6 separate regions of the Homo sapiens genome follow, and regions 2, 3, 4, 5 and 6 are each linked to region 1. Evidence: promoter capture Hi-C in 16 types of primary human blood cells and fetal thymus (Javierre and others, 2016). All regions are on one chromosome and are shown on one strand. Each heading gives the region's core, a stretch centred on a gene start or on the middle of the fragment in contact. The rest is flanking DNA. Distances are from core to core; before and after follow the strand shown.

What was found. Contacts are between HindIII fragments. The CHiCAGO score rates a contact against its expected background, and 5 or more counts as called.
Region 2: a contact is called between the fragment with the promoter of ADCY7 here and the fragment with the promoter of HEATR3 in region 1, in 8 of 17 cell types (neutrophils, monocytes, M0 macrophages and 5 more). The highest score is 10.1, in neutrophils.
Region 3: a contact is called between a fragment that was not itself captured here and the fragment with the promoter of HEATR3 in region 1, in 2 of 17 cell types (M2 macrophages and M0 macrophages). The highest score is 6.4, in M2 macrophages.
Region 4: a contact is called between a fragment that was not itself captured here and the fragment with the promoter of HEATR3 in region 1, in 14 of 17 cell types (M2 macrophages, M0 macrophages, megakaryocytes and 11 more). The highest score is 19.1, in M2 macrophages.
Region 5: a contact is called between a fragment that was not itself captured here and the fragment with the promoter of HEATR3 in region 1, in 1 of 17 cell types (neutrophils). The highest score is 8.4, in neutrophils.
Region 6: a contact is called between a fragment that was not itself captured here and the fragment with the promoter of HEATR3 in region 1, in 1 of 17 cell types (neutrophils). The highest score is 6.6, in neutrophils.

Annotation. Positions count from the first base shown.
Region 1 is chr16:50,064,720-50,067,735 of GRCh38, forward strand. HEATR3 (HEAT repeat containing 3) reads left to right here and starts at 1,251. Exons shown (of 15, transcript NM_182922.4): 1 at 1,251-1,550; 2 at 1,648-1,820. The coding sequence starts at 1,413. It overlaps HEATR3-AS1 (HEATR3 antisense RNA 1), which reads right to left and starts at 1,605. Exons shown (of 3, transcript NR_186390.1): 1 at 1,334-1,605; 2 at 1-88. RefSeq lists an enhancer at 1,059-1,353 and silencers at 1,204-1,253, 1,584-1,633, 1,714-1,973. The HindIII fragment of the contact is 22,013 bases long and covers 1-3,016 here.
Region 2 is chr16:50,264,614-50,267,939 of GRCh38, forward strand. ADCY7 (adenylate cyclase 7) reads left to right here and starts at 1,938. Exons shown (of 26, transcript NM_001114.5): 1 at 1,938-2,067. RefSeq lists enhancers at 1-14, 1,082-1,675, 1,621-1,710. The HindIII fragment of the contact is 14,845 bases long and covers 1,734-3,326 here.
Region 3 is chr16:50,227,413-50,230,786 of GRCh38, forward strand. TENT4B (terminal nucleotidyltransferase 4B) reads left to right here. Exons shown (of 12, transcript NM_001365324.3): 11 at 427-591; 12 at 1,740-3,374. The coding sequence ends at 1,916. Among named protein-coding and RNA genes, the nearest start is that of ADCY7, 37 kb to the right of the region's middle. The HindIII fragment of the contact is 534 bases long and covers 1,658-2,191 here.
Region 4 is chr16:50,210,810-50,213,877 of GRCh38, forward strand. It overlaps TENT4B (terminal nucleotidyltransferase 4B), which reads left to right. Exons shown (of 12, transcript NM_001365324.3): 2 at 514-637. Among named protein-coding and RNA genes, the nearest start is that of ADCY7, 54 kb to the right of the region's middle. RefSeq lists a silencer at 1-63. The HindIII fragment of the contact is 3,393 bases long and covers 1-3,068 here.
Region 5 is chr16:50,317,208-50,320,526 of GRCh38, forward strand. ADCY7 (adenylate cyclase 7) reads left to right here. Exons shown (of 26, transcript NM_001114.5): 26 at 1-928. BRD7 (bromodomain containing 7) reads right to left here. Exons shown (of 17, transcript NM_013263.5): 15 at 3,041-3,184; 16 at 2,680-2,823; 17 at 1-2,059. The coding sequence ends at 2,004. Among named protein-coding and RNA genes, the nearest start is that of MIR6771, 26 kb to the left of the region's middle. RefSeq lists an enhancer at 1,887-3,086. The HindIII fragment of the contact is 7,497 bases long and covers 1-3,319 here.
Region 6 is chr16:50,294,839-50,297,742 of GRCh38, forward strand. All of the region lies in intron 7 of ADCY7 (adenylate cyclase 7), which reads left to right. Among named protein-coding and RNA genes, the nearest start is that of MIR6771, 3.7 kb to the left of the region's middle. The HindIII fragment of the contact is 813 bases long and covers 1,170-1,982 here.

The DNA of each region.
Region 1 (3,016 bases), core at 1-2,500:
GCAGGAGGACTGCTTGAACTCCAAGGCAGAGGTTACAATAAGCCGAGATCGCACCATTGCACTCCAGCCTGGACAGCAGAGTGAGACTCTGTTTCAAAAACAAAAAGAAAAAAAGAAAATTGACCCAAAGCTATGCATATATTGAGTACTCACTCGTTACATGTCTAATTATAAAGACCACCTAAGATTCTCCTGTACTTTTCCCTCTGCTTAGTATTTACCACAATTATAACCAAAGTTATTCATATAATTATATATTCAACAGATCTCTCCCTGGACTGTAAATTCCATAAGGACAGGGAGAGAGGACAGGAACCAAACTGTCTTGATTACTGCTTTATTCCAATGCCCAGCACTGTACCTAGTACTCAACAAATATCTGCAAAAGAATCTCTTTGTTAAATACGTTTCCAAACATTTACATAGTGCTTAGTATCTGCCAGTCTCTGTTCTTAGCACCTTAAACATATGAACACATTTAGTCTTCGTAACAACTCCATGAGGTATATACTATCGATGTCCCCACTTCACTGATGAGGAAACTAAGGCAGGGAGATTAGGTTCTTAAGCGATTCTGTTTTATCAAATATAGACACACATTCGTTCCAAAACATTAACTAGTCTCTGTCTACGACAGGAGCTATGGGAGGTGCTGGGGACACAAAATAAAATCGTGGTTAATGCTTTTTGAGTACCTGCTATATATCAGGCTTGGTGTTAGGCACTTTACAGAACTTTATGAACTTTACAGAACTTACAATAACCTTGCAAGTTAGGTATTCTTAATCACATTTGATTATTTGTAGCCGGTGTTACTAACTTATTGGTTGCTTGATTGATTGATTGAGACAGGGTCTCGCTCTGTCGCCCAGGATGGAGTGCAGTAGCAGGATCACGGCTCACCTCAGCCTCAAACTCCTGGGGTCAAGTGATCCTCCGGCTTCAACGTCCCAAGTAGCTGGGACTACACACACACGCCACTATGCCCAGATAATTTTTAATTTTTTTGGTGGGGAGGACAGGGAGTGGAGTGTTTTCCTATGTTGCCCAAGATGGTCTCGAACTTCTGGCCTCAAGTGATCCTCTCGCCCGGGTCGGCGTTACTATTCTAGTCCAACCTCCTACTTACCCGGTAAACCCACAAGGCTCCGCCCCTTTGCCGAAGCTGGCCCCGCCTATGCCCTCTTCCACGCCTGCGCGCTCCGTGCGCCAGTTCCCCCCACCCCGCCCCGCCCCAACCCCGACCCGGCAGACGACGCGCCGTGCGCCTGCGCACGGCTTGCCCATGTGTGCTGCAGCCGTCAGCCGGCCCAGCTGAGCAGCAGCAACGGACCTTGTTAACGGCGCGGCAGCCTCCACCGCCTGCTGTTGCCCTCCTCTCTCGGTGGTCTGTCCGCCCAGCGCACGTCACCATGGGCAAGAGCCGGACGAAGCGCTTCAAGCGACCTCAGTTCTCCCCTACGGGCGACTGTCAGGCCGAGGCGGCTGCGGCGGCGAATGGGACCGGAGGCGAGGAGGACGACGGGCCGGCGGCGGAGCTGCTGGAAAAGGTGAGGCGAGGGCTCCGTCGGGCCGGGAGGCGAGACGAGGTTGCCCCGCGCGCGTGCGCATTGCGCGCCTTCTGACCCTTTTCGCTCTCATCCGCAGCTCCAGCACCCGAGCGCCGAGGTCCGCGAGTGCGCCTGCGCAGGGCTGGCCCGGCTGGTGCAGCAGCGGCCGGCACTCCCGGGCCTGGCGCGACGAGACGCCGTGCGCCGCCTCGGGCCGCTGCTGCTAGACCCCAGCCTGGCCGTCAGGGAGACTGCAGCCGGCGCGCTGAGGTGAGCCAGGAAGGGTGCGGGGCGGTGCCCACCGCTGGCCTCCCCCGCGTCTGGGCTGCGGGCGGTCGCAGCGGTCACCCAGCGCCTTCTGTGTGCCATCAGGCACTGGCCCGGTCTCCCGTTTGCAGAGATTTGAAGCCAGTCTCCAGGCTCCGGAGAAGCCCAGTATCCCCGCATCTCATCTGTCCACCTGGCTGCTTCACCTGCAGCGTCCACCTGCTCAGGCGTCCTGCCCTCACGCCTTGCGCACGTTTTACACTCTCCAAAAGCCCTCCTTAGGGTCCCTTGCTTGGATGAACTCTTCAGTTCATGTGTCAGGAATCGTTCTAGATGCAGGGGACTTTGAGCAGCCAAGACTTTTGAGCGAGATCTGTTGACAGCCAAGATCCCTGTCTTGGCACAAGTCATGTTGATGGGGAGACAGACAGGAAGCTAGTAAAAAGGTAAAACATAATATTAAATAGTGAGAATTGCTGTGGGAAAACGAGATGATGATGAGTTGGGGGTGGGAAGTTTGAATTGGGTGCTCTTGGGCCGGGCGCGGTGGCACACACCTGTAATCCCATTGCTTTGGGAGGCCAAGGAAGGAGGATCACTGGAGGCCAGGAGTCCAAGGCCAACCTGGGCAACATAGCAAGACCCCGTCTGTAGAAAAATTATAAACAATTAGTCGGGCATGGTGGTGGGTGCCTGTAATCCCAGCTACTCAGGAGGCTGAGGTAGGAGAATCGCTTGAGCCCAGGAGTTCGAGGCTGCAGTGAGCTATGATCACACCACTGCACTCCAGCCTGGGTGATAGAACAAGACCCTGTCTCAAAAAAAAAAAAAGGTGCTCTTTAGATGACTTGTGAAAGGAGATGTGCAGGGTGAGAGAGCCAGGAGGCATGGGAAAATAGGGGGAAGAATATTCCCCACAAAGGGAGCAGCAACAGCAAAGAAGCGAAGCAGCAGGCAGCTTGACGTGGTTAAACAGCAGAGAGGGTAGGTAGGTGGCTGAGAAGAGCAGGGGTGGGTAATTACAGGAAGTGAGGCTGGAGAGAGGGATGAGCTGTACGATGGTGTAGGGCTGAGGACTTAACTCTAAGCAGGGAAGTGACATGCTGCAACACATTTTGTGAAGACCACTCTGCTGGTTGTGCAGAGAATGGACTGCAGAGGGGGCAAGAGTAGAGGTTAGTATTTGTAGTTCTTACAGC
Region 2 (3,326 bases), core at 688-3,187, 200 kb after region 1:
CCTTGTCAACACTTGGTATTTTCATTTTAATTTTAGCCATTCTAGTGGTACAGTGGAATCTCTATATGGTTTTAATTTGCTGGTGGCTAATGATGTTGAGTATCTTTTTCATGTGCTTATTGGTCATTTTGGCATCCTCTTTGTTGAAGTACCTGTGTAAGTCTCTTGTTCATCTTTTAATTGGGCCATTTGTCTTTTTCTTATTGGTTTGTGGGAGGTCTTTTTTTTTTTTTTTTTTTCTGAGACAGAGTCTCACTCTGTTGCCCAGGCTGGAGTGCAGTGGTGTGATCTCGGCTCACTGCAACCTCTGCCTCCCAGGTTCAAGTGATTCTCCTGCCTCAGCCTCCCAAGTAGCTGGGATTACAGGCTCATGCCACCACGCCTGGCTAATTTTTGTGCTTTTAGTAGAAACGGGATTTTGCCATGTTAGCCAGGCTGGTTTCAAACTCCTGACATCAGGTGATCCGCCCACCTTAGCCTCCCAAAGTGCTGGGATTACAGGCATGAGCCACCATGCCAAGCCTGGGAGATCTTTATATATGCTAGGGAGGAGTCTTTTGTCAGTCATATAGGATGTGACTTTCTCCTAGTCAGTGGCTTGTCTTTCCCCTCTTTTGATGATGATGATGTCTGTTCCTTCTCTGCTCTGGGACATTTGCTAGGGAGACATTTGCTGATAGGAGGGCGACCCTGATGGGGAGGATCCCCTGAGGTCTCCCACTCCCTCCTGTGGCCTCTGGAGCAGCCTGGAACCCTGTGTGAGTCCTATGCCTGTCTCCACCAGATGGCAGACCTTAGATCACCTGCTAGTTCCCTGCATGGGGCCTGGCACAGAGACAGCACCTAACATGTTCAGTTCCTCCTGATCAGTATGTGTGGGATGTCTACTCTGTGACCAGCTGGGGCTGGACGCTGGGGACACAGCTGTTGATATTACAGCTGCCCTCCCATCTCTGCCCTCCTCAAGGATATAACCTAGGAAAGACAGACCAGCAACCAGTGGTCACAGCACAGAGGTGCTGTGATGGAGGAAGGTGCAGGGGTTAGAAGACCAGAAGAGGGGTGTCTGACCCTGGATGTGGGAGGTGGAGGAGGTACACCATTGCTTTGAGGAGCTCGTAATCCCAGGATGCCAGTCACATGCTCAGAAGGGCTCCCTGAGGACCAGGTGCTGCTGTGGCCAGCGGGCTGGAGGCCTCCCCCTCTGTTTTGGGAGTCTCCACTCTCTCCTCTTAGCCTCTCCTGATCTGCTCCCTCGCCACTGAGCGCCCCATGATCCCAGTGGGGAAACTGAGGCCTGGCATAGCAGAAGGGGTGCTGGGGTTTGATTCCCAGCCTCATGGTGCCCAGGGATGTTGGGGGCTCTCCAGGGACTCTGATTTTGGAATAGGAGCCCCAAGGATGGGCCTGCCCCTGCCCTGCTCCCAGCATGGGAGCGTAGGTGAGATGGAGAGGCAGTGGGCTGGGCTGGAAGATCTTTGACCTCTCCTGGGCCCCTCTCAGAGGTGGACGGGGCCACCTTACTACATAGATAGGGAAATTGAGTCCCAGGAAGGCGCGGGGGGCCTGTCTGTGAGCGTCAGAGCCCACAGGAGGCTCAGGCCAGGCCGCTAATTGCTAATTGCTCACTAAGGATGCATTTGCTCCCCACTTTGAACAGTTGTCTTGGGGCTTCTAATGGAGGTTTTTGGTGCTTGTTTTATTATTATTTTTTCAAAATTGTTCCAGCTTCAAGCTTCAAATTTCCATGAAGTCATTGGAGCCCGACAGCTCCCAGGCCTGGCAGCTCCCAGGCTGCGGAGAGCAGCACTGTGGCTGGGGGAGGGGGCCCTGCACACCCCGAGAGGCTGGGCTGTGGGCTGTGCCTTAGCCTTGCTGCCGCCGCCGCCGCTGCTGCCGCTGCCGGAGCAGGAAGTGGTGGGTCCCAGATGTGACTCACTCTCATTAGGTAGCGTGGAAGGAGCCTTCGGATGGGTGAGCCTGGGCGCGTCTGAGGAAGGGCAGGCGGGGGCCGGGCCACCTCCCTGCAGACCCTGGCCGGCTGCTGGGGCCGGGGAGGAGAGCCAGGTAAAAGTGGGGTGTGGGGATGGAGTGTCACCAGTCCTAGTGGCTTGAGCCCCAGGGGACGGGGCTGGACAGTGGGTGGGAAGCAGCTCACCCGGCAGCCTGGCCTGGGAGTGCACTGGGCAGGGTCTGGGCTGGGGGAGTAGGAGGCTCCGTGAGCCTACTGGGCAGATGGCTGGGAGAGGCGGCCCTTCAACAGGGGACCAGAGGCGACTTGTCACTGGCTTTTCCCAGCCTGACAAGAAAGTGCGGTTGTGACCACAATGTTGTACATGTGGCCCGTTCCATCTGGAATTCTAGGAACCACAGACTCTCAAATGTCCACACTCCTTCTCGAGGGTGTAATTTTACATTTACAAGCACACATGACTTTTCTCAATGAAAGGAAACATTGGCAAGGGAAGGCCAATTCAACTAATTTTATGAAATTATAAAACAAAAAACAAACAAAACCTCTGAAAGGAGTGCATGCCTGAGGGTCAGGAAACCAAGATGCCTCCAAAAAGCAGACTGGTTTCCCTTTCCCTGCAATGCCTCTCCTCTATCCCCCAGGGACCGCATGGGCCATCTGGAGTGGGTCTTTCTGGAGCGGGTCTTTCTGGAGCTTTCTATGCATTCATCTAAACATGTATGTACAGAGGGTGAGGCAGTTGCCTCTTCTCTGTGTCATCACATCAGGGTCAAGGGCAGGGACATCTGTGGCTGGGGGCTTCCTCCCTGGACAGCCATTGCTGGAGAGGAGAAGGGAGGGCCGGGAGGGGGAAGCCAAGGGCCTGGAGGTAGGGGCCAGGCCGAGCCACCTACGACAGGGGCCCTGGGTCCAAGGCCTGGACGGGCAGCCAGTGTGGGCTGGATGTGTCTGGAAGGGCTATGTGACCGTGGGCCTTCACTAGCATCACCATCTTGCAGATGGAGGCTGTGAGGGGTGGACTCAACACCAGTGTTTCTCGGAGTGAGGACCGGGCTGCCCAGGGAATCACAGGGGGTTCTAGCCTGTGTGTGGAAGGACATGTTTAAAATCTAAGTATTTGTCTTGGGGAAAAAAAAATCTGTAAATAGGACATTGCCATTGTGACATCATGACTGTATTATTGTCTTAGACGAGGCCAAAGGAGACATAAAAGTGACAAGCCAGCCAATTTGAGAGGAAGTGCCAAGTGCCAGCCCTGCAGGAAGTGCAGGAGGCTGAGGGGGCTGCAGCTCAGGAAGGCGTTTGCTGCACAGCCTTCGCTTCCCACCCAGTTGTCTGTCTTCCCACCTCC
Region 3 (3,374 bases), core at 675-3,174, 160 kb after region 1:
CACCAGTATGTTTGGTTAGAATGATCACTGATTTGTCATCACAGACTCTCAGAGATTGAACCCCTTAAACCCATCATCTTGTGTCTGGCTGAAGCCAGGGACTAGGACCTAGGTTCCTCACTCTTTACCATACTCTTTCATTTTCTATAAATAAAAAAACAAATAAACTTAGACCTCTGTGAGCTCCTTCAAGGTCAGATGTGGGCAGTGGATTTAACAATGAACAGAAGCTCTCTGATAAAATCAGTCATTTTAAATGTTTGGAGGAAAATTTAAACAAACAGTTAATTTTTTGTGTGCTTCTTTTAACTCCCAAATGTTTAAATTTAGTCCAGAGAGTACTTTAACCAAAATTGTTTTTCTTTCTGAATATTGAGTATCTAAATTACTAATATGTCACATTATAACTCACGTGACTTGTGTTAGGATTCCGATGCAACACCATGCAAAACCCCGAAACAGCTGCTTTGCCGTCCGTCCACTGGGAACCGAGTAGGGTCGCAAGATGTATCCTTGGAGTCCTCTCAGGCAGTTGGGAAAATGCAAAGCACCCAAACCACTAACACATCCAACAGCACCAACAAATCTCAGGTGTGTGGAACGTGGGTTTTTAATTGTTAGTATTTGATACAAAATATTTAGAATTTCCCACATGTAAATAATATGCAGCATGGGTTTGAAGAAAACGCTAGATTGAAGAACAAACTTATTTTATTCTAAGAGGTTCCAACACATGACAGTGCTTCTAGGAACAGGATGTCCTAAGGATCCTTGTGAGACACCATTGTAACATAAATCTCTTCAGGAATCTATTGACTGGTCCTTATAAGATGTTCCAGCCAAACTACCATATAAAAAGTGTCTCAGTTGTACATGAAATAAGCTGGCATGAAGGTTTTGTGAGGCCTCATGGCAGTGTGCATATCTGGGAATAATGTATCCTTTTCTAATATTTTAATGTTCAATACCTTGTTGCTGGTGTTGAAATGATCAGCTGGCTGTCAGGCGTGGTCAGTTGATTAACATTAGCTTGGACTTAAAAGGCCACAGAGATACTCTAGTTTAAGTTTTTTTGTTGCCTAGAATTGTCATTAACTGAGTAATGACTCAGAGTGAGGGGAGGAAGCCATTGATATGGGGCTCTGGCCTAAGGCTGGGTCACTCCTCACTATAGCTGGGAACCTGGGAATAGGCCTCTTGGCTGTAACCTTGTGTCTGATTTGACTCACTGAGTTCACTTTACCTACGCGGCCTTAGCCATGTATGCCAGACACAGACTTATCACAAAATACCAGTTCAAGTGACAGGGTTGACAGAAGGGACTGAGGTCACGAGAAAGCCACAGGCCATGAGTAGCAGGAAGGGAGTAGCCACCTGTGCTGACCCAAACCTACCAGTGTGCCTGTCATGCCCAAGAGCCTCTTCCCGCTCTGTCACTTATGATGTGGTGTTTGGGTTGGTAAGTTTCTTAAGAAAACCTTTGCATCCCACACACTGTTAAGAAGGCGGGCGAGTGGTCTATGCTTTTCATTATTTCCATTAAAATAAAGTAAGGGTTTTAGAGCTAAAAAGAACCCCTGTAACAGCTTTTTCTGCCCACTAGATAAGTCAGTGATCAGTAAGGTAACAATCTAGCCAGCATATTCCTAGTTTTGAAAGCTTCCCCAAATCCAGGTGTTTGAGAACACTCTGCTTTTCTGCAATACTGATGTCTTTGTGGTCGTTTTCTGTTTCTGCAGCATGGATCAGCAAGGCTCTTTCGTTCTTCCAGCAAAGGCTTCCAAGGTACAACTCAAACAAGCCATGGTTCCTTGATGACAAACAAACAACATCAAGGCAAATCCAATAATCAGTATTACCATGGCAAAAAGAGGAAACACAAGAGGGACGCGCCCCTCTCAGACCTCTGTAGATAGTCAGCGCTGCGCGGTGGACTGTCTTCTCTGTGCAATGATCTCATGCTCAGGACAGTTGCGCAGGGACTCCTGGGAGATATTCAGGAGCCTCACACTGTTCAGACGTTGACTTAGCAACTGCGTTTTTTCCCAGCTCGCCACAGAATGGATCATGAAGACTGACAACTGCAAAAAAAACAAAACAAAACAAAAAAAAAAGCAAGCAAAAAAGAGGGAAAAAAAAGGCTGCTTATTTGATAAGTCATATGCTACAACAGGGTCATTTTAAGATTTAAAGCTTGAATGTAAAATAAATATATTTCTCATTGGCTTTATGCAGAGTTATAGGGAATAGTATTCAGTGTTGGTAGGGTGATAGAAACAAAAAACAGTATCAGAGGATGAGGTGGGGAAGGAAAACAAAGGTATCTGATAGGAAGTCCAGATTCCAAAGGGGAAAGTGATCTGTGCATGTTTTTTTTTTAAATATTTTTGCATATATTTACCATTTTATTGTGTGTATATATAGAAGACCATATAGGAGATTGATATTTGTAATAGTGGATTTGTTAATAATACTTTTTACATAACATTACTGTTTAAATTGTAAACAGATTTTTTCTCAGGATTAGTTTGAAAAATAATCTAAATTGTCATCTTAACATCCATATATAGGGAAGTGATTAGTTCTATTACTCAATTTGTTTTTCTCAGCATTGAAATGACTTAATAGAACCCTTGTGTCCTGCTGCAAAAATTTTTCCTCTCTAAAGAAAAGGTTTATGGTGGCAAATGATGTTTATTTTATTTTGTAAAAAAAAAAAAATGTACTATGTACTTTTGTGTAAACACTGAAAAATCTCTGGTCATCTCCGAGAATTAACTTGCAACTGTTTTCTATAGTGCTGTCGTCTTGGGCAATGGGCAATTACATGACTTTGTGTTTGCTTCCTTTGCAGTCTTTTTTTTTTCCCCCCATTTCTTCCTAATAGGAAAAAAAAAAAAAAAAAGGTCACCCATGTCTGGTCTCATTCCTGTTGCAGTGAAACTTCGAGTTCCACAGACTTTGCATGCTGGCTTCTCTAACCCTGTGTGCTGCGTGTGCCTGTTTCTCATCTCTTATTCTTTTTAAAATTCATGCTTAACTACTGTGGGAGAATAACTGTAAACAGCTTTAATTAAATCATACTTATAAAAAACTATTTTCTTATATTCCACTCTATGCTTTTGGTATTGTTGATCTTTACAAATTAAATGGTCTTTGATAATGGATCTATTTTGTATTGCCTTATTAAGACCAAATACTTCTTGTCATCCCATTCTTTATCCTCTTCTTTCATGGAATTGTTATCGTTAATTAAAACTTTTTTAAACATTGGCTTGTTTCAATCATACTGTAAATTTTGGTTGTAGTCAGCTTTGAGTGCAATGAGATGTATAATTCTGTTATCATTACCTGTTGAGTTTGAAACTCAGTTG
Region 4 (3,068 bases), core at 317-2,816, 150 kb after region 1:
TGGAAGTCTTCAGCTCCTTCATGGAGCCTTTGCCAGCCATTCTTTTCAAGACTTTGCTGTTGTTCACTGCCTGATTTGTTCATTTGACACTTAATTCACTGAGCAAACATTATGAAAGATGTACTGTTTGCTACTGTGAGGAATGGATCCCCAAGAGATAAGAGGGTCAGTCCCTACTGCCAGGAAACTTGCCTGTGTCACCTGGGTTCAGTATCTTGTGTCTATTAGATCAGAAGTGGAAAGGCAGAGGCCAGCCCGTATGCTTGTTTTATTTTATTTAAATCACCAGCACCCCAGCAAGTGTTTTGCACAGGAAATTTCTCATTATTTAATTATTTTGGGTTTTTTGATTAAATTCTGTACATTCCCATTTTAGCTTATCTTGAGTTATAACATTAAAATTAAGGTAGTCATCAGCTGAATTATAAGACTTAATTAGATAAGATTATTTAAGATAGTGATTTCTCATTAGATTGGCCCTGTTCATATTAACTTTTCTGTTTTTTTCTTCAGTCTGCATGAAGAAATCAGTGATTTTTATGAATACATGTCTCCAAGACCTGAGGAGGAGAAGATGCGGATGGAGGTGGTGAACAGGATCGAGAGTGTAATTAAGGAGCTCTGGCCCAGCGCTGACGTGAGTCCCTTCCTGGGTAGCTTATGCTTCGGACAGTCCTTGTCCACGGGCTAGAAGCCTATCTGCTGGTATCTCATGCTAGTCCTCACATGCAAGTAGAAGTGCTCTGTAGAGTTGTGGTCTAATTAAATTTTAAAGGCAAACAATTTTCTGCAGTCTTTAGAATTGAGGCTTCCTAACTATTTTCATTGGATTGGATGACTAACAACTATTTTTTTTTTGTAGTGCTAATAGCAACTACTAAAGGCAAGCTATCCTTAGAAATTATTAGTGTAAAGAGAAGAAAGACAAATCAAACCTCATTGTTGTAGTGGTCTGTTATTGGATATGATATATCAAAACCTCATTACTACTTAGTTCCAGCCTGCCAGGGTAAACATTATATAATTGTTTACAGCTAAATGAAAATGTCAAGTAAGAACTTTTGTCACTTGAAGTTCATTTCCTTTGGCTAATGCACGCATAAGTCTTTTCTTATTTCTTTCCTGAAATTGCCATTTTTCATCTCTCTCAGACCAGCTAATTGCCTTTTAGACAGCTCCCAGTCAGTGAACAAAATGATTACTCAGGATTTCTTCTTGGCTTATTTGTCGTTTTTGTTACTGGTACTAAGTCTTTTGTTTTTTGTTTTTGAGATGGGGTCTCACTCTGTTGCTGAGGCTGGAGTGCAATAGTGCGATCACGACTTACTGCAGCCTCGATTTCCTGGGCTCAGGTGATCCACCTCAGCATCCCGAGTAGCTGGGACTGCAGGTGCACGCCACCACACTTAGCTAATTTTTGTATTTTTTTGTAGAGACTGAGTCTCACTATGTTGCCCAGGTTGGTCTTGAACTCCTGGGTTCAAGCAATGTGCCCGCCTTGGCCTCCCAAAGTGCTAGGATTACAGGTGTGAGCCACCACACTTGGCCTGTTACTGGTACTAAGTTAATACGTCACTTTTTAGGGCACTTTGAGGGCCTGTTCTACAATTTTGTGTATGCAAAGAAGTACACAAAATAATACTAATAAAATCCATTACTTTGTGTTTGTAGCTTTTCTTCAGGCACTGTCCTGGGTGGTGGTGGGAAGCTAGGGAAGGTTTTTTTCCAATTGGCAAAACAAAGAAGTTTCATTGTATGTAAAACTTGCAAGTATATGACAGTATGTATATGACACTGTAGGTAAAGGGAAAAGGCAAGGGTACTAATGTTTTATGAGCAATGACCATACATCGCATTCTTTCTCCTATGTGATCCAAATCAGTGGTTCTCAGCTAGTGGCTATTTTGTTCTCCAGGGGGCATTTGGCAATGTCCGAGACATATTTGATTGTCCTGACTGGGTACGCACTGCTAGTACCTAGTGGGTAGAGGCCATGGATGCCATCAGCCATTCTATGATGAACAGTATAGGCCCTTACAACAAAGAATTATCCACCCCCAAATGCCAATGTTGAGAAGCCGTGATCTAACTTAACCCTTATCTTTCTTAGGTGGAGGTTGATTATCTATCTATCTCTTTCTCTCCAGCCAGCCAGGCAGCCATCATCTGTCTACCTACAGATGAGGAACATGAGCTTGTGGTTAGGTTCCCAGGTCCATCTCGCCTCAGAGGTTGAACTGGTTTCACTGTTTATCATTTTTTTCCCCCGAGATGGAGTCTCGCTCTGTCGCCCAGGCTGGAGTGCAGTGACATGATCTCAGCTCACTGCAGCCTTTGCCTCCCAGGTTCAAGAAATTTTCCTGTCTCAGCCTCCCAAGTAGCTGGGGTTCAGGCGCCCGTCACCACACCTGGCTGATTTTTGTAATTTTAGTAGAGGTGGGATTTCATCATGTTGGCCAGGCTGGTCTTGAACTCCTGACATCAGGTGACCCACCTGCCTTGGCCTCCCAAAGTGCTGGGATTACAGGCGTGAGCCACTGTGCCCGGCCTATCCTTTTTTTATTACAATTACCTGCATACATATTTCTGCCTGAGTTCCACCGTTCTCCATGGGTTGAGATGGAATGCATCCCAGTTTTATGCCACAGCATGATGTTACCTGATGTTCTTTGTGGAATTGACCTAAAGGCCCTCACTTGCCCTACAGTTAAAGTAGTCTGATCCCAATTTAGTAATCTATTCGAAGACTCCTGCTTAGAGAACAAAAATGAAGGATTTGTGATTGTGTCTCTGGATAATGAGGGAACATTAGTGATCTGAACTGCTTCTGAAAGTTTCCTGTGGTTGGCTTTCTGTATCCACAGGTACCACACCTCCATATTAAACCAACAATGGATTGAAAATATTCAGAAAAAACTATAAAAATAACAATGTACCAATAAAAACAATACAAATTATTTTAAAAATACAGTATAACAACTATTTAGGTAGCATTTACATCATACTTGGTATTATAGGTATTATAAGTAATCTAAAGATGATGTAAAGTACATGGGAGGACTAGCATA
Region 5 (3,319 bases), core at 255-2,754, 250 kb after region 1:
AGTATGAATAGAAGAACTTGCTGTATAAAGGAATTTCATGGCAACAATGCTGGTAAGGGCAATTAGCCTCGCTTAAGTTGCCTTTTTTACACACCAAAACTTTTTACATGAAGGGCTGGTTTCACATGAATACTATACTGAAATCTGTGCTCTCAAGATCTAGCAGTGACCAGGGCTGCCCGGCGGGGGCTCTCCTGGCAAGTCAGGAAGGTTTCTGTTGCTAATATAACATAGAAACACATTAGTGCACTGGGCCTCTCTGAGGTCAGCATATTTGTACTCTTGGAATATTTGTTTTTTTCTTCAGTAACAACAGAAACCCCAGTTGGGAGTTTAACAAATAACTGACTACCACTCACTCATGCATTTTTATTTCCAATTAAAGCAAAGCACTGTGCTGTGCTCAGATAATAATAGTTTGTAAGTAAAAGTTTTTAGTTTTCAGTGTTCAGGTTATAGAATATAACTGACCATAAAAATTACCTGCAGGTATTTTCTTTTTATGAACTTGTTTTTAAATTACCAAGTAATTACTGGTGTCATTTTGTTTTATGACAGACACACGTATCTAACAAACAAACAAACAGTGACCTTCTCCATGGGTCAAGGACTTCCTTACAATTTCTCCTGAGTTAACTTTTGTGAAAATAATACCTAAGGTTTTCTGGCTTATTGAGGAAATTTCCTAACAAACAAACAAACAAACAAACAGAAGAGAAGATCATTAACCACTGTATACTTTGTGTATATAATAGGTCAGTGTAAAGAAATATGATTTGAGGTGGTGCATGCAAGTAACTAGGGTTTATTCTATATAATGAATATTTATAGATCTGTAACATTTGTTTCAAAATGCTGTTTCATTTTTATAAAGTACCAGTGTTTAGCTGCTTTTTATACATTAAATTAGCAATTTGAAAAACTCAAATATCTGAAGGTATTTTATTTTCGTGGTCCTCATGAACTCACTAGAGATTAAAAGTAGACTCAAACAACTTGAAAATTTGACTCTTTTAGCATAAGATTTTAAGTCTTTTGAGGGAATTAATTTTCCTTTACCCTATTTGTTCTTCCTAAATACTAATTAATTTTCAAAGTCAGGAAAATAATAGAAATCAAATGGCTTCCTGCCTGGGTGATTTATAGAAGGATTGTATAAGGGCCTTCAAACTTAATTTGTTCACTGAACAAGGCTATCTATCTATCTATCTCCATCCTGATTTTTTTCCCTTGTGTATAACAGGTTCTATACCGATTCAGCAAAATCACCATTTATCTCAGCTTGCTGATAAAAGGGGGCCATGAATCTTGTGGTCTCCTACTTAGAGTTCAACTCCTTGGGTACTTGACCTTTGTATTTCAGATAAACAGTAAGTAAAGTAGAAATGTCACCTTTTGGTAATCTGGTAATTCCCTGATCTATTCAAGGATGACTTAGTTTATCTTATTTGGCTTATTACTTTGCTATAGTACTAAGTAACTCCTCTTTCTTTAAAAAACGGAAAAAACCAAAAAAGAACACTAGCCATGTGACAGTGCTATAAAACTCCCAGTGTGCTTTTGTCAGGGGTGGGTGGGAGGTGCCTAATTACCCATACAAGGGCATCATTCCCACTGGGTATGCAGGGGCAGAACCACAGTAGTAAATTCTAAAATTATTTCAAGTATGTTCGTATAACGGAAAATCTCACTGGATGGGGCCGTTTTAAGAACGCTTCTTAGTGATGATCCTGTCTGTGGGACATAAGGAAGAAGCATTGGAAGGCACTATTTTGAAAGAATGCTGCACAGGTATGGCAACAGCCCCAAGCACATTCCTTCCTCACGAGTCCCAGGTCCAGCTTTATTACCTAATACAAGTCCAACCTCTGGAACATCCAAATTCGCTGTTCCAAAGTTTAATTAAAAACACAATTTACAAATATTTAATATCTTCTGAAAAGCATTTCTAAGTTAAGAATGAAAAAGTATGTACATAATATATAATCAAATACCAGGCAGCCTCAACTTCCACCAGGTCCACACTCAGCAACATCCGTCTTTTTAGGTTCTTCAGTGTCTGAAAGAAAAAGACATCACTTAATTCAACATTGTTTTTACCTTTTAATTAAAAAGGGGACATGAAAGTCAAGCTGCCATCCAGAAGCATAACTGCTGAGAGCCCTTCTTCACCACATCCAAGGCTGAAGACTACGCGCATTATCAGGTGATCATTGTGGCTCTTCTGCACACAGGAAATCTTTATTAATTCTTTAGACAAGATAAAAAGAAAACTAAGAGTAGTTTATACATTAAAAACAGATAAATGTTCCTTTTACAGTTGACCCTTCTTATCCATGGGTTCCACATCTGCAGATTCAACCAACTGCCAATTAAAAATATTTGGGGAAAAAACCCAATTAAAAAAATACAACAAACAATGAAAAAAATATAAAAAATACAGTCTATTAACTACATTCTATGAAGTATATAAGTAGAGATGATTTGAAGTATACTGGAGGTTGTGTGTAGGGTATAGGCAAATACCTTTTATGTTAGGGACTTGAGCATCTACAGATTTTGCTATCTTTGTGGGGTAAATACCAAATCCGAGGTCCTGATACCAATCTCGGGCAGACACTGAGGGATGACTATAGTCACCATAGCTTTCTGCTTTCCCAGAGAAAACAGGGCACGTACCTTCTGTCAAATCCACAAAGTTGTTTTCCATGACGGGGGAAGGAATGGAAATCCCCATTGCTTTTCGAACTCCATACGTGCTTACGATATCACCTGGAGTTACTTGCTGTGCAAGTTCTTTAAGATTATTGGTCACTTGTTCAGCTAAAAAGAAAAACAAAGTTCCAGATACTAAAGCATGGTTCCTTTAGATAGAGGCATCCCAAAGAACAGTAAATGTACACATGCAAAGAAAACAAAACAAAAAAACTGTCCCTGGGATTCACATCAGCATTACTCTATAGTGGCATCACCACTGTACTCAAGAAGTTTTTTCTTTGAAGCATCCCGTGACTCTCCTCTTATGGGAGGCAAAACATACCAAGATGCATTTCTCTGTATGAGGGACCCAAGAGACAGATCATGTTCGGAGGGGGTCTGGTGCTCAAACGTTCATTCTGGGCTTCCTGGAGTTCCCTGAGCAATCTGGTGGTCTCATCAAGTTTCTTCTGGAATATTTCAGCTTCTGTGTGGTAAGAAAACAGACACACTTCTGTTTGATCTTGTGCAGTAAACCGAATCCTAGGCTCTAGGGCTTTGCTAATTATTGGTTAGCCTTCTCCCTTCAAAAGAGTAATCCGCTTGAAATGACATCAACACG
Region 6 (2,904 bases), core at 326-2,825, 230 kb after region 1:
GAATTGGGATGGGGAGGCGTGGCTGAATTTTAGCATCCAGCCAGCAAACACAAGCGCCCCATGGTAAAGGTGGGGGTGAGTGGTGGCCACGGCAGCCAGGATCCTGTGCCCCCAGAGTGACAGGCCAGTGGGGAGACTGACAGTGCACACTGGGCGATATACTGGGGCTCTGGAGCTCAGATGGGGGCTCAGGAGGAGGAGATGGCTCCATCCTCACTGGCAAGGCTAGCAGCCTCCACTCACCTGGTAGCTCAGGAGGACTGTGGAATGCCCAGCCTCACCCAGAAGCTGCTTTTCACAGGATCTGAGGTGAATCATGTGCACATTAAACTTTTACGTTTTGTTTGTTTGTTTTTGTGAGATGGAGTCTCATTCTGTCATGAAGGCTGGAGTGCAGTGGTGCCATCACTGCTCACTGCAGCCTCGACCTGCCAGGCTCAAGTGATTCTCATGCCTCAGCCTCCTGAGTAGCTGGGACTACAGGCATGCACCACCACGCCTGGCTAATTTTTTTTTTTTTTTTTTTTTTTTTTTTTTGTAGCAATGGGGTTTCGCCATGTAGGCCAGGCTGGTCTCGAACTCCTGACCTCAAGTGATCATCCCCTCTTGGCCTCCCAAGTGCTGGGATTACAGCCGTGGGCCACCACTCCTGGCCCACCTTAAAGTCTGAGATACTTGAAAAAATATCTGAGGAGGAAAGGGAACAGTGTTCTTAGCAGGGGGAACAGCATAGACAAAGCCTGGAGTAGAAAGAAAGCCCCGTGTGTCCATGGGGTGAACGTGCTCAGTGTGCGTGTGAGGTGTGAGGGGGACAAGGGCACAAGGTCTGACATGCAAGGACATGAGGGCTGAGGCGAGGACCAGGATGCTGAGGAGCTCGACACGTGCCAGGCAGGGAGGGGGTAAGGCAAGCAACATTTCCATTAATGGACCAAATGGTCCTGAGAGAGGGTAAGTGCCAGGCCCTGAGTCTGGGTGGGGCCTTGGGCCTACATGGTATGTGCTTTGAAGAAGAGAAGTGTGGGGGCCAGGAAGCCTGGGGAGCACCTAGCCCAGCCTCAGGTGATCAGGGCAGGCTTCCTGGAAGTGGTGGCCATTAAATAGAGACTGAAGTGTAAGATTTAAGGTGGTGGCTCCCTATCCTGGCTGTACATGCAAATCACATGGAAAGCTTAAATAAAACACCAGTGCCCATGTCCACACCCATCAGAGTTCTGTTTTGTTTTGTTTTTGAGACAGAGTCTTGCTCTGTCACCTAGCGTGAAGTGCAATGGCATAATCATGGCTCACAGCAGCCTCAACCTGCCTGGGCTCAGGCGTCCTCCCACTTCAGCCTCCCGAGCAGCTGTGACTACAGGTGTGCACCACAACCCCAGGCTAATTTTTTTGTATTTTGTGGAGATGGGGTTTTGCTACATTGTCTAGGCTGGTCTTGAATTCCTACGCTCAAGTGATCCACCCACCTCAGCCTCCCAAAGTGCTAGGATTACAGGCATGCACCATCATGCCCTGCCCCATCAGAATTTTTTTTTTTTTTTTGAGACGGAGTCTTGCTCTGTTGCCCAGGCTGGAGTGCAGTGGTGTGATCTCTGCTCACTGCAAGCTCCGCCTCCCGGGTTCACACCATTCTGCCTCACCCTCCTGAGTAGCTGGGACTACAGGCGCCTGCCACCACGCCTGGCTAATTTTTTGTATTTTTAGTAGAGACGGGGTTTCACCATGTTAGCCAGGATGGTCTTGATTTCCTGACCTTGTGATCCGCCTGCCTCGACCTCTCAAAGTGCTGGGATTACAGGTGTGAGCCACTGCGCCTGGCCAGAATTTGTAAGAGCCCCGCAGGTGTCTCTGTGGGCAGAGAATCAATGGTCTAGAACTTGATGGGAGGCAAGTTATGACTTCACACTGGGAAGAATTTTTCATGATCAGAGCTACTCAATCCCAGGAGGGACTGGAAGTGGGCTCCCTGTTGCAGGGGGTAACCAAGCTTCTACAGGATTGCACTGGTCAGGGATGCTCTGGAAAACTGTCCCATCCTGGGGATTGTGGACTGAGTGACTCAGAGGGCCTGTCTAGCCTGGAACCTTCCTTCAGGATCTGCATGGCTTCTGAACCAGCAGCTGGGAGCCCCAGAGGTTGGGCCTCATGTGAGGCAGGGGCCCTGGGCTCGGGCCACAGCTGGCCCTTTCCTTACCATAAAGCCCACACAGAGGGTCCCTTGCCCTTGGACACAGTCTTCCCTCTCCAGCAGGCCCAGGAGGCGTGGCCCTATTGCACAGATGGGGAAAGGGAGGCCATGGCAGGTGCCAGCTTCCCAGTCAGAGCATCTAATCTCTGGGCAGAGTTGGGCAGGGCTGGTCCCAGCCTTTTCTCCTATCAACAATCAGATTCCAGAAGTGTAAGCTCTTTCCAAGAGCCAGGGCCTCCTCTCTCAGAGGCATACAAGTCACACCTCCGCACAAGACCCAGCTCCCCAACTCCAAGTGTCAGAGACACAGGGGACTGTCAGCCGGTGGAGCAGCCGGGGGAATGTGGCCTCTCCTACATCCCCGAGAGCTGGGCTGGGTCCATGGGCAGTCCTGTGCCTGGTCCGAGAGGAGATCAGGGTAGCTGGAGCCTAGTATCCAGGTCTGCCAAGATTGCCTGCTTTCTAGGAAAGCCACTGTCCTCTTGTCCTTGCAGTCACTCAGAACTCACTCAGCATGTGCCAGATGGGGCCCAGCAGGAAACATCTGGCACACGCTGAAACTGAGTAATTGGCGGAGGGCACAGGCCAGGGATGGTTCCCAGGCTGGGCAGGTGCAGGGGACCTGGAGGCAGGGCTGGTGCTGTGTCTGGGGCCTGGGTCTGTGATGGCTGATGGGCACAGAGTAGGGACGAGGACAGGATAGGCTCGAGTCCTGGAGA